Regions from separate parts of the Homo sapiens genome. Here region 1 is linked to region 2. Evidence: promoter capture Hi-C in human tissues and cell types (Jung and others, 2019). All regions are on one chromosome and are shown on one strand. The core of a region is centred on a gene start or on the middle of the fragment in contact, and the rest is flanking DNA. Distances in the headings are between cores, read along the strand shown.

Region 1 (6,477 bases), core at 2,376-4,875, 81 kb before region 2:
AGGAAATCTTTTGGTTCCACTCAAAACAAGAGTCTTTCAGTTGTCCAGCTTTCTAAATTTAACTTAGGTAGGTTTAAAATACTCAGGGAGCACTCAGTAAATGTTAAGTGACTCCAACCTTAACAAAGAAGGAAATCTTGTCATTTGGGACAACATGGATGAAATATGCTAAGTGAAACAAGCCAGGCACAGAAGGACAAATGCTTCATGATCTCACTCATAGAAGTGGAGAGTAAATGGTGGTAACCCAAGGCTGAGGGGAAGGGATGGGTTGAAGAGATGTTGGTCAAAGGGTACAAAGTTTCAGTTACATAAAAAGAATAAGTTCAAGAAATCTATTGTACAACATGATGACTATAGTTAATAACAAAGAAATGTATTCTTGGAAATTGCTAAGAAAGCAGATTTTAAGTGTTCTCATCACAAAAAAATGACAAGTATGTGAGGTAATACATATGTCAATTAGCTCAATTTAGTAATTTCACGATGAATACATATCTCAAAACATTTGGTTGTACACAATAAACATATATAAATTTTAGTTGTATGCAATAAACATATATAATTTTTACCTGACAATTAAAAACAAGTAAATGGGAGATTTCTGAACCTATTCTGGTTCAGGGACTGCCTAATAAAAATAATGACAATGAGTAAACAACAAAGAAAAAAGGTTAAGTGACTCAAGCTTACAAAGAATTGACCTTAGAAATTTCAATTATACCCATCGCCCAAAAGATTAATCAAAGGATGCTGTTGACAAATGATTGTAATCTGAATTAAATATATAAGATGGCAAAAGTATAACTAATACCTCAAATAGCATCAAAGAATAATTTTCTATAAATACTGTCTGAGAAACACATCAAATCCTTGAAACTTAAAATTTAGAAAATTGAGAAAAGTTACTCTGGGCAAACCATTGTCACTTAAATATTTCTTGATCAAGTGCTGAAGAACTAAATAGAACAACTCTAAGAATATTAGGAAAAGACTATTTTTGACTGTTTCAAACTATGAAATATGTCATTTTACTAAACCCTAGAGACTCCCTGTATTTTTCACAAATAGTCATTGAGAAACAAAAGAGTTGAGGCTGGGATGGTGGATCATGCCTGTAATCCCAGCACTTTTGGAGGCTGAGGCAGGTGGATCACCTGAGGTCAGGAGTTTGAGACCAGCCTGGCCAACATGACAAAACCCCTATCTCAAAAAAAAGAAATAGCTAGGCATGGTGGTGTGCACCTGTAGTCCCAGCTACTTGGGAGGCTGAGGCAGAGAATCACTTGAACCCGGGAGGCAGAGGTTGCAGTGAGCCGAGGAGGCGCCACTTCACTCCAGCCTCTGTCTCCAAAGAAAGAAAGGAAAAGAAAGAAGGGAAGAAAGAGAGAGGGAGGAAAGAAGGGAGGAAGGAAGGAAGGAAGGAAGGAAGGAAGGAAGGGAGGGAGGGAGGGAGGGAGGGAGGGAAAAAGAAAAGAGGTGAGCACACGGTTACTTTGAGGAAAACAAAGATGAAACTTCACATCACATTCCAACAAGTCACAGCTTGATCTCTAAGCTTTGCAGTCAAAAAGATTTTATATAAACATGAAGTACTTCTACTGTCTCCCAAAGCCTATCCCCTGATCAGTCCTCAGCTTAGAACATTGACCAATTACACAGCTCACACTAGGCTGATCTCAGATTCTCCTCTGAACTTCTCTTAGGGAGAACCTGCTTTCTGAGGACATTCCCACACTCAGTTCGCTGGGCTGTTGTCCATTTTTCATTAGCCTCAAAGGTTTAATGGCAACTCCATCACCAAAATATTAATCACACAATGAAGTTACAGATTTTCCAACATTCTTGAGCAAGATGTGCTAAGACTTATGTTACATTTGGCCCACGTTCACATTCTTTGGTTCTATTTAATCTCAATTAATTTCTGTAAATTCCTCATTTGCATGCTCTCTCTCTCTTTCTCTGTGTGTGTGTGTGTGTGTGTCTGTCTGTCTGTCTGTCTGTCTATGACAAATACACCTGAAGTTAAGGGGAAAAAGTAAAGATGTTTGGGCCATAGCATGGGCCTCTCCTAAGCCATATCTGCAGTCAGGATAACAAAGAAAATTAGCATGTTATATAACGAATATGTCTGAAAACTGAATTAGAAAGATATCCCTGTTACCTAAGGAAAAGCCACTCACAGTGGCTCTCTGACTTTTTTTAATTTATGGAGACAAAAATATTTCTACTTTACTGAATACTGCATATAGAAATTTAATAAGCCAAAACATGCCCTCCTATTTAAAACCAATTATAATTTTTGTTGAAAACCATTATCATTCAAATTGTTGCATACATATATATAATACATTTTACTACTTTATGAAGAGGAAAATTTAAATATTTACCATTTATCTAAAATGCCTGTTCACATACATAAAATTATCATGTAAAAACTAAAATTTCTCTTTATTTAGAATGCAAAACATTCAGGATTTAACAACTGGCATATAAAAATAGTAATGACCCTACTAAAGTAAATTTAAAAGATATCATTTCTATTTAAATGTCATCACATTTAGGCAAATTTGACAGATTGCCTCCTCACAGAAAAACGTTTAGGCAGTATATGGATTTAAAATACATTATATTGTAGGCTAGGAGTCAAACATGTTAATTATCTAGCATCGTTCCTCTACAGAATGGATTTCTCCAGCTTCAACATGCCTCATGCCCCCATTTAGAGACTAATGCTATTACCTGTCTGTAAGCTAATATTCAGGTGAAATGAGGTAGTTTGGTGACCTAAATTATCTTCTAATACCCTTAACCTTTAGCTGGTAAAAGCTTAGCCTAACAACATGTCAAATGAGGCCTAGTTCTGGCTGTAATGAAATTTCCACCTCATGTAAGCCTGTAACTTGTCTATGCTTTTCCCCTTTACAGTGGTGTCTTTTACATATGCTAAAAAAGGAGTTAGTTGATATATGTTTCTCTGGAAATTTGCATAAAGGAGGACACTGGAAAGGAAAATTAGAGAGTCAAAAACCTTGAAACTGCTTTTGGCTCTAGGCTAGGGAGATTTTTATTTTTACTTTTTAATCTACCAATTTATTTAAAAGGAATGTATAATACACATATAGTAAAGAGCACGAATCTTAGCATACGGATTGATGAATTTTTATGTACACATATAGCCTAGTAACCACCCAGCTCAAGATACAGAACATTCTCGTCAACCTACAAGCTTTCCTCATGTACCTTCCTAGCCAATACTCTCCCTCTACTCAGAGGTAACTGCTCCTTTTTTTTTTAATTGACAAATAATCATTGTATTTATTTATAGGGTACAATATGATGTTTGATATATGTATACACTGTAGAAAGAGGTAGAAACCAACCAACATTTTACCCCCTGCTTCATTTAAATGAGAAAATGCAATATGTGTCTTTCTGTAGGCTACAGAAAATTTTTAAGATATTAACTTTTATGGTTGAAGAGAAGAGAAAGAGAACAAAAAGCTTCTCTTAAAGCAGAATCAAGGCTTGTGGATAATTTAAATTTAACAATAATGTGTAAGTTCCTGGCTATCACTTCAACAAAAACATATTAACAGAACATATTTCAAATAACTGAGTTTTTCACAATAAAACTTTCTCTTTATTAATGTCAGGACTCAGAGTTTACTACAAATTTATCTCGATAAGAGGGAGAGAACATGTAATAAAAGAGCGTAGAACTACTGTGTAACAAATAAAACGAAGTTTTAAAAGTATTGTGCATATATATGTATAAATGTGTGTATATATACATATTTTAAAGGGAAAACTCAGAGTCTAGATTAAACAGATATGACCTATAAAATTGATATCAAAAATATTTTCAATACTTTATGAAACTTTGTTCTTTGGAAGTTAATTACATTTCGCTTAATATACTGTTAAGAAAAGAGAAGAGTAACTGACAGCTGTTCTCCCTCACTAGCAGGCCAACTTCATGAGTGGTCATCACAAAAATGCTCATTAATTTAGATGACCACTCATAGTGTTACAGTTTTAGACAGCACACTGCATTGGGAGGGGTATATGTAATTACGTTTTGTGTGTGTGTATTACTAGGGATTTGGGAGGTCAAATAATAACTCTCCTGCTCTGTCTTGAACTGAAACCAAATGAGCAATAGGACAGGAGCCTCTGTATACTTGGCCGAATTTTTCTACAGAGAGGACTTCCACTAAACCTAGAAGAATGTGTTTGGTTCCCTGTCACCTCTTTATATGTGTGTGTATTTGTGACTAAATACAAAACCTACCCTGCCTTTCAGGTGAACACCCTGCTGAATCATATAGCTTTTATTAAACATCAGAACGATTAGAATGGGAAGGTACACATCAATGTGATAGTCTATATTCCCACCGAAGTTAAAAATTCGGTCATTCAACTCTACGGAGCATCTGATATTTTGAGTAATTCACATAGTTGTGAACAAGCTATTCAAGGACCTTATGCTCACAGGGCTTCTACATAAATAATGCTAAAAGAAAAGCATTAAGCCTTTTCCCAAAAATGTCCTCATTGTAAGGGTGTTTCTTCCTCATATCTTCAAAGACACTTTCGGTTAAAAACCCAGGGATAGAATGCAGCTTTATGCCAAAAAAAAGATGGAAATACCTAAAGCTATCCAGAGAAGAAATAGACAGCCTCAAAGGCACTGTTCATAAGGTGCACAGCCATCTGGCATGGGTTGTCTATTAGTATTAGAAGGATCAAATGACCCTTAAGAGTCCATTCAACTCTTTTCAAATTTTTATACCTTCTTTTGTAAATACAGAGTAGAAAAAAATTGAAGTAGACAGCATGGAATTCCAATTGTCCCCATTGAAAGAAACAAAGTATTAGCAACTCATTACACATTCTGCTGTCTTTCTTGTGTCCATACTATATTCTTACACTGGGTACCTTTCCATTCATTAATTCATTTATCCAGAAAACAAAATTTTTAACATTGTGATAAACCCCAAAGAATTATTCAAATAAGCATTATGTCTGAATGAAGGTCCATTTCCTGGGCTTCAAAATACATCTCTTTAAGATAAACTGGAAAGTCTATGTTATATTCATTGACCATGAGTTTACAAAGTAAGGAGTCCTGCTCAATAGGGGTAAAAAGTTTCACTGTCTTCAGAGAAGAGTCTAACCAACGGTTTTGTTTTACTTTAATATTGTGAAATACAATACACATAAAGAAAATTGCATAAAACAAATATATATGTACCATTCCCAATCAATCCCATTACCCAACCTAAATGAAACATTTTTCTGATTTTGTTAATTATTTATTTGCTTTTCTTTATAGTCTTATCATCTAAGTACATCCTTAAACACCACAGTTTAGTGTTGCCTATTCTTGAACATTATAAAGATGGTATCACATCGTATGTAATTTTTTGTGAGAATGGATCCTTTGGTTCAATATTATATTGGTGTAATTTGTTTATGTTGTCCCTTTAGCTGTAGTTCCTTCATTTTCTCTAATGAATAATGTTTCATTCTACATATATGTGCTATTCATGTGTCCATTTCTCTGTTAGTGGAAACTTGGCATATTCCTTGTTGGGAGTATAATAAATTAAGCTGCTATGAGTATTCTTGGACTTCTGTTTAGAAGCATATGTGCATGCATTTCAACAGAAGTGGAATTTCTAAATCATAGAGACCACCATATCCTCAAGTTTAGAAGACAATGTCAATTTGTTCTTGCAAAATGGTTGTACTGATTACGCACCCACCAGCTCTGTTTGAAAGGTCTTTGTTTTTTAAATTTCAGTCATATTGGGTATATAGTGCTATCTCATTGTGATTTTAACTGGCATTTCCCTGATTACTAATGAGGTGATCACTTTTTTAGATGTTTATTGGCCATCTAAACTTCTTTTTTTAATTATCTTTTCAAATCTTTTTATACTAAATTGTTTATGTTTTTCTTATTGATTTGTAGTTCTTTGAGTATACTAAATATAAGACCTTTATTGGGAATATGTTTTGCAAATATCTTCACTCACTTTATATTGTTTTAAGTATAATAATTACTTAATTATGATATCATTTCAAGGGAGACTGACAAGATAATATGACATTTTAATCATTAGGGCAAACTCTAAATTTAATAAAGAAGTATAGTGTCAAAAACTGAATTTTTTTCAAAAATATCTATTTATTTGAAAAAAATTTTAATTTATTTTTAATTTTTATGAATACATAGTAGTTGTATGTATTTATGAGGCATTTGGAATGTTTTGATGCAGGCATGCAATGCATAATGATCACATCAGGGTAAATTAGGTCTTCATCACTTCAAGCATGTATCCTTTGTGTTAAAAACGATCCAATTATACTCTGTTAATTATTTTATATTTTATTTTTATGTTTTAATTGTTTTTCCTTTATTTCTTCTAAAGAAAAAATACGTGCAGGTTTGTTACATAGGTATACGTG
Region 2 (6,339 bases), core at 262-2,761:
GCCCAAAGGGTCACCTTTTTTTAATATAAACAATGGCACTTATAAAAGCTATTAGTTATTCTGGTTGGCTGATTCTCCCTCCTAGAGAAGCTGTAAGATTAGTGAACAGGGTAATATCTAGTCTAACCCTACTAGATGACTATTAAGGCCTCTTTCAATGGTGGTTTTCTGTAGATCTCTTTGATGGTTTTACAAAATGGTCCCTAAATTCTTTGACACTCCTCACACTAAGGGTTGGGCTCTATATACCCTCACCTTCAATCTGGGATTTGTGACTGCTTGACTAATAGAATCAAGCAGAAATGACACGGTGCCAGTTTCTGGGCCCAGCCCTTAAGAAACTGGCAGCTTCCACTTTCTGTCTCTGGGGACATTCACTCTTGGATCCCCGCCACCATGCTGTGAGGAAGCCCAAACCACAAGTCTCCACAAGTCTTTGTGGAGAGACGCACGTGGAGAAAAACTAACACTCAACACCAAGCAAGTGAACTGTCTTGGAAGTGGATCCTCCAGCCCCTGCTACATGGAGCAAAAACGAGCTGTCCCAGACAGGCTCTGCCCAAACTGCAGACTGATAAGCAGAGTAAATGAGTGTTGTTATTTTAAGCCACTACGTTTTATAGTAATTTGTTTAGCTGCAGCAGATAGCCGGAACAGCATGGGATATAACATGACCAGTGCTCCAACCTCACACTTCTACCATGTGCTGACTCTAGCAGTGCACTGAAGGACTCCAAGGCAGGCCTTCCCTGAGGAGACCCCAGTTTTTACTCACATGTCACAGGCAGTGGCCTTTGTCCCTCATCTCCTCTCCCACCCCCAATTTAGGATAAAGTATCTGCCGTGATAAAGACGTTGAGACCCACTTTCTGTAAGGTCGGCTTCTTCATTGTTTGAATTTCTTGAGGTTTCACGGAGCCACGCGCTGGAACCTTCCATAGTCTCTCCTGAGGCTCCTTCTTTGCCCTGGGCTGGAGGTCTGTAGCCGTGGGATGCTGGCTACAAGGGACAAGATAGAAGCAAACCACCTGATCCAGTAAACTGCTGTCCACTTCGGCTCCTCAACGGCCTCTAAGCTTAAGAGGGAGCACGCAAGCCAAGCAAAGGCGGCAGGGAAGACGGAGAAGAAACCACCCGTGGGCCCTGGCTCTGTGTCCAGTTGTTCCGTCACAGATCAAATCTGCCTGCACTAAGAGGATGGGTTCCTCTGCAAGGCCTTTCGGAATTCTGAGTCTTGTCTGTCAAACTCTACCCTCTCTCCTCCACATCCCCCACCTTTTCTTTCAGGAAGGAAATAGTTAAAAAAGACTCCTGCCCTTCAGGGCCTGGAAGGGGGCGGCAGCTTTGTGCTTTTTAGTGGCCGCGTCCCAGGATAGCTGGAAGGTTAGGACGCTCTTGCGGTCCCAGAGTGGAGTGGAAGGTCTGGAGCTTTGGGAGGAGACGGGGAGGACAGACTGGAGGCGTGTTCCTCCGGAGTTTTCTTTTTCGTGCGAGCCCTCGCGCGCGCGTACAGTCATCCCGCTGGTCTGACGATTGTGGAGAGGCGGTGGAGAGGCTTCATCCATCCCACCCGGTCGTCGCCGGGGATTGGGGTCCCAGCGAGACCTCCCCGGGAGAAGCAGTGCCCAGGAGGTTTTCTGAAGCCGGGGAAGCTGTGCAGCCGAAGCCGCCGCCGCGCCGGAGCCCGGGACACCGGCCACCCTCCGCGCCACCCACCCTCGCCGGCTCCGGCTTCCTCTGGCCCAGGCGCCGCGCGGACCCGGCAGCTGTCTGCGCACGCCGAGCTCCACGGTCGGTGCAAGTCTTTCTTATCGGGGACTGGGACTGGGGCGGGTGCGGGGATGGCGGAGACGCTGCCTGGGCCCCTCGGTCGGGAGAAGACGAGAGCTGGGAACGTTCTGGCCCGACCGCCCTGCAGCTTGGGCGACCCGTCGCAGCAGGGGCTGGCACCCACTTGCCCCAGGGCGCGCGGGGAGGCGGGCGCCTTCCGTGAGGGGTGCGCTGCGGACACGTGTAGAGTTCGGGGAACTTCACCTCTCCACGTTAGGGTTTAGGATTCGGAGTTTTAGGAAGAGGAAGCCCAATAGTTTTCCCTGGGTGACCCCTTTTCCCCAGGCATGCAAGAACTTTGAGGAACGCCAAGCTCTGTGGCTTGCTCCAGCGCCTTCTTGTGAAGTTGGCTCCACAGCCTTTTCTTACTGGCTTGCTTTTCCTCCCCCACATCTGGGTCTGGGTATGCCAAGGGTAGCCAAGGGCACTCGGTGTGAGGGACTGAGGTGTTTGGGGAAACCCCCTGTGTAGCTAGTTTTGGAAACCTGCCTGTGGAGGTCTGGGCGTTTTGTTCTGTGCTCGCCTTTAAAGGACACTTGTTGCTTCTCACGTGCAGAAAACAAGGGCTGCTTCTAGATAATCACCCTCTGTTTACATCATCCTAATGGCTTTCCCCTGATAGAGTTGGGGGTGGGAGGCATATTAAACTCAGGCGTTGTCTCTAAGGAGAGTTGCTCATTTCTTAACCAGAGAGCAAAACCTCAGAAAACTTGTAAAAAGTTCCTACTTTTACTTGTTTTTTCCTCCACCTGTAGTTGTCTATGTGTTAGCTAATTGAGAAACACCTTGGCAGTCATTTCATGTAAATTGAATGCTCTAAACTCATGCCATTTTGATAAGGTCTGAATTTCCAAATTACCAATTACAGGTGAACTTTGATCCTGAGAGTCTCATATGTTAAATGGTTAAAGTGTAAGCGTAAGGATTCAGTCCTCTTTCTTAATAATAGTTTTTGCACTCCCCAAACTCTCAGATTCCAAACAGGAAGAATGCTGAATCTATAGACCATGTCCTTCAGGTCTGAACCTGAGATGCTTCACTAGCGCTATGACTGATTATGAGTGATGATTCAAAGCACAGCCTGACTCAGATTCCTGGAAATGAGCTACAGACCCACCTTGGAAGAACCTGCAGTTGAGGGGCTTCTTTCATTTGGTTTTGTACTTTTCAGCCAATGATAATATGACATCCACAGGCCTTTGCCAAGTATCCCTTAGTTTTGCAGCTTAACATGTGTGGAGAGCTGATAGAGAAGTCATCAGAAATGATTTCTGTAGTGGTGTCATTGTTGGAGGAGGAAGGAAGGGGGTTTTAATGATAGCTGGCTCTCATGCCTTAAGAACCCACAGCGTTGGCCTTACCTCCTGGCATAATCAGCTAACCAAGCAGACCAGCATGCTAACGTTCAAAGCACCACAGGACCTCTGATGAGTAGAGCAGTACCCACCGTAGCCAGGTCAGTTCACAGGTCAGTTCCCAGCCGACTGTAACCGGCAGAGAGCCATTCCATTTCTGCAAAGGCCTTCTCTCTCTCATTTTTAAGAAAGCTGTTATTGAAGGTTCCCTTTCATTTGGGAAGCTGGAAGACGTTAGTCACGAAACAGCACAAGATATGAAAGTATTTCTTCTCCCCCCTGTATCTGTGATCCAAAAAGGAGGATGACAAGAAGCTTTTCTCTTGGAGTCCTGGTGTTCCCTTTGGAATGGAAATGGTGTCATTTCATAGGTCTATCAATTTTTGGCCAGATACTCACTCCAGATTATAAGAAGCAGGAAAAAACTGCAAACTGTTTATAATTAAGTCTAGTCAGAGCTGACAAATACATGGCCTGCCTCTAGCCTTGAAAAATTGATATTTTTCCCATTTAATCAGAGTGAGTCAAGTCCTATAAGCAAAATTATGTGTCCTGCCATTTCTTGGCTTTGAAACCTTGACCTAAATACTTCTTCAAGACTCTGGTTTCCTTATAAGTAAAATGGAGATATTGCTCCTGCCTACCTAGAGTCGTAAAGCTCAAGGCAGATAACAGATACATATATAATAAGTTACTATATGTAAATACTATTATTATTTCAGAGTTCAGGGGGAAATCTCTGGGGAAGGCAAAAGTATCCAATACTCGCACTTTATATATACCCTATACTTTCTATGCAACTTGAATAAATCTTATTTTATCCACGTATTGGCCAAACCTAAGCTTTACTGATTTCCCAAGATAATTGTCAAAATTCCTAAAAGTGGTTAACATCAACCTTGAATACACTCAGAAAAAGGATTCAATTTTATTTTTTACTTTTTATTTATTTAATTTTTTTTTTTTTGAGACAGGGTCTCACTCTGCTGCTCAGGATGGAGTGCAGTGACTCGATCATAGCTCCCTGCAGCCTTAACCTCCTGGACTCAAGTGATTCTCCCATCTCAGCCTCCCAAGTAGCTGAGACTACAGGCACACGCCACCATGCCTGTCTAATCTTTTTTATGTTTTGTAAAGACAGGGTCTCACTAAGTTGCCCAGGCTAGTTTCAAACTCCTGGGCTCAAGTGATCCTCCTGCTTTGGCCTCCCAAAGTGCTGAGATTATAGACATGAGCCACCACACCCAACCAGGACTCAATTTTTTTAAGATTAAATTATGACCTGGGTATATACATCACAGACACGTACACACACCACCGCATAAATCAGATTATGTCTTCATTTGAAGATTCATAAAAGCCTACAGAAAAGGAAATATATAAAATATTGAAATAGGATGAGCTATTTTTAATTATCTTTGATTATTCCTTATTAAGGTCTCCTAGACTTCCTGGACAGGAAGGACCACTTGCTCTCTGCAAGTGACTTAAAAATAAATAAATAAATAAATAAACCACACCAGATGGTCTTTGAAAATGTCTAACCACCCTCCTGAGTCTATTGCTTCATCTAAACTCTGGAGACTTCTTTAAAATATTTTACATACAAATAAAGCACAAGAATGAGAGACAGGATGGTTTAGTGGTTAACAGCTCCGGCTCAGAGTTGGACTGACCTGCCTTAGAATCGCAGTGTTGCCACCCATCACCTGTGGCCTTGACAAGCTGCTTCACCCTCCTGGGCCTCTGTTTCCCTATCTTCAAAATTGAACCGTGGATCTACCCCACAGGACCATTGTATGGATTACAGGGCATCATGCACATATAGTACTGAGTACAGTGACTGGCATAAAATAAATGTAGCTATATAGGATGGTTAAAAGATAGCATGGGGACAGGTGTCCCTTGGAAACCAAAATACTATGACTAGCCTGGAAAAGTTCATTACTCCCATTTCATTCATCGGCAAATACCGTATTGTGATGATAATTTCTGAGAAATGAAAAAGCAAAAAAACTCCTGTAAAAAATTTAGATTTTACACATTAATCATCAAGGTTTTCAAAACAAATGTTTTTATCAATTATTTCATTCTTAATTGAAACTAAAATTGTTAGATGTGTTAATGGTGTTAACCAGAGTTCTCATTAACATTTCATAACACTTTAGATGGCTACCTGTGCTGCACTTCATCCCTATGTTCATTATTTATCATATGCAAGACAGCACACATTTTAGAAGATTCAATTTTTACATTCGATAATTTTATTTTATGCCTCAATACCCTGTACCCTTTACTCAGCATATAATGCCTTTTCTCTTTCATTAAAAAATATGTTTGTATCTCAACTCTTGAAGATTTTTGTAATTCAGGTTCTTATCAGCCTGAATGTAGAGAAAGAAGTAACTACTACTTAAAGGAAAAACTGACATAGCCTCATCCATATTATGATGTAGATATAAGTATAGCTATGTATAGAGATGAGTGAGAGAGACAAAGCTAGAGAGATAGGGAGATGGAGATAGAGCTAGAGATGGAAATAGAGACAGAGATAGATAGCTATAGAGACGGAAATGGAGACAGAGACAGAGACGGAGATGACAGAGATGATGGAGATGATGGAGATGGAGATGGAGACTGACATAGAGGAGATAGAGCTTGCCCTAATAGAGCTTCAGTTTTTTTCTGGTTTTGCTCTGTCATAGGGTAACCTGATATACATATATCTTATCTAATCACCAAATATATCCTGCATTTTAATTGAATCAATAAATAATCATTGACTATGATCTTTTTGGCAACTGGGTTTTGGAACAAAAATTATTTTTCCTTTTGTTTCAGGTGAAAAAAAAGTGAAGGTGTAAAAGCAGCACAAGTGCAATAAGAGATATTTCCTCAAATTTGCCTCAAGATGGAAACCCTTTGCCTCAGGGCATCCTTTTGGCTGGCACTGGTTGGATGTGTAATCAGTGATAATCCTGAGAGATACAGCACAAATCTAAGCAATCATGTGGATGATTTCACCACTTTTCGTGGCACAGAGCTCAGCTTCCTGGTTACCACTCATCAACCCACTAATTTGGTCCTACCCAGCAATGGCTCAATGCACAACTATTGCCCACAGCAGACTAAAATTACTTCAGCTTTCAAATAC

Evidence for each region. The method cuts DNA at HindIII sites, captures the fragments that hold promoters and counts their contacts. A contact is called where the count stands out against the background at its distance.
Region 1: a contact is called between a fragment that was not itself captured here and the fragment with the promoter of EDNRA in region 2, in 5 of the 25 tissues and cell types used here (H1 embryonic stem cells, heart left ventricle, hippocampus and 2 more).

The regions. Positions count from the first base shown.
Region 1 is chr4:147,396,925-147,403,401 of GRCh38, forward strand. No RefSeq gene overlaps it. Among named protein-coding and RNA genes, the nearest start is that of MIR548G, 55 kb to the left of the region's middle. The HindIII fragment of the contact is 5,004 bases long and covers 1,124-6,127 here.
Region 2 is chr4:147,479,586-147,485,924 of GRCh38, forward strand. It overlaps EDNRA (endothelin receptor type A), which reads left to right and starts at 1,512. Exons shown (of 8, transcript NM_001957.4): 1 at 1,512-1,791; 2 at 6,027-6,339. The coding sequence starts at 6,097. RefSeq lists enhancers at 2,202-2,301, 2,332-2,411. The HindIII fragment of the contact is 3,954 bases long and covers 1-3,764 here.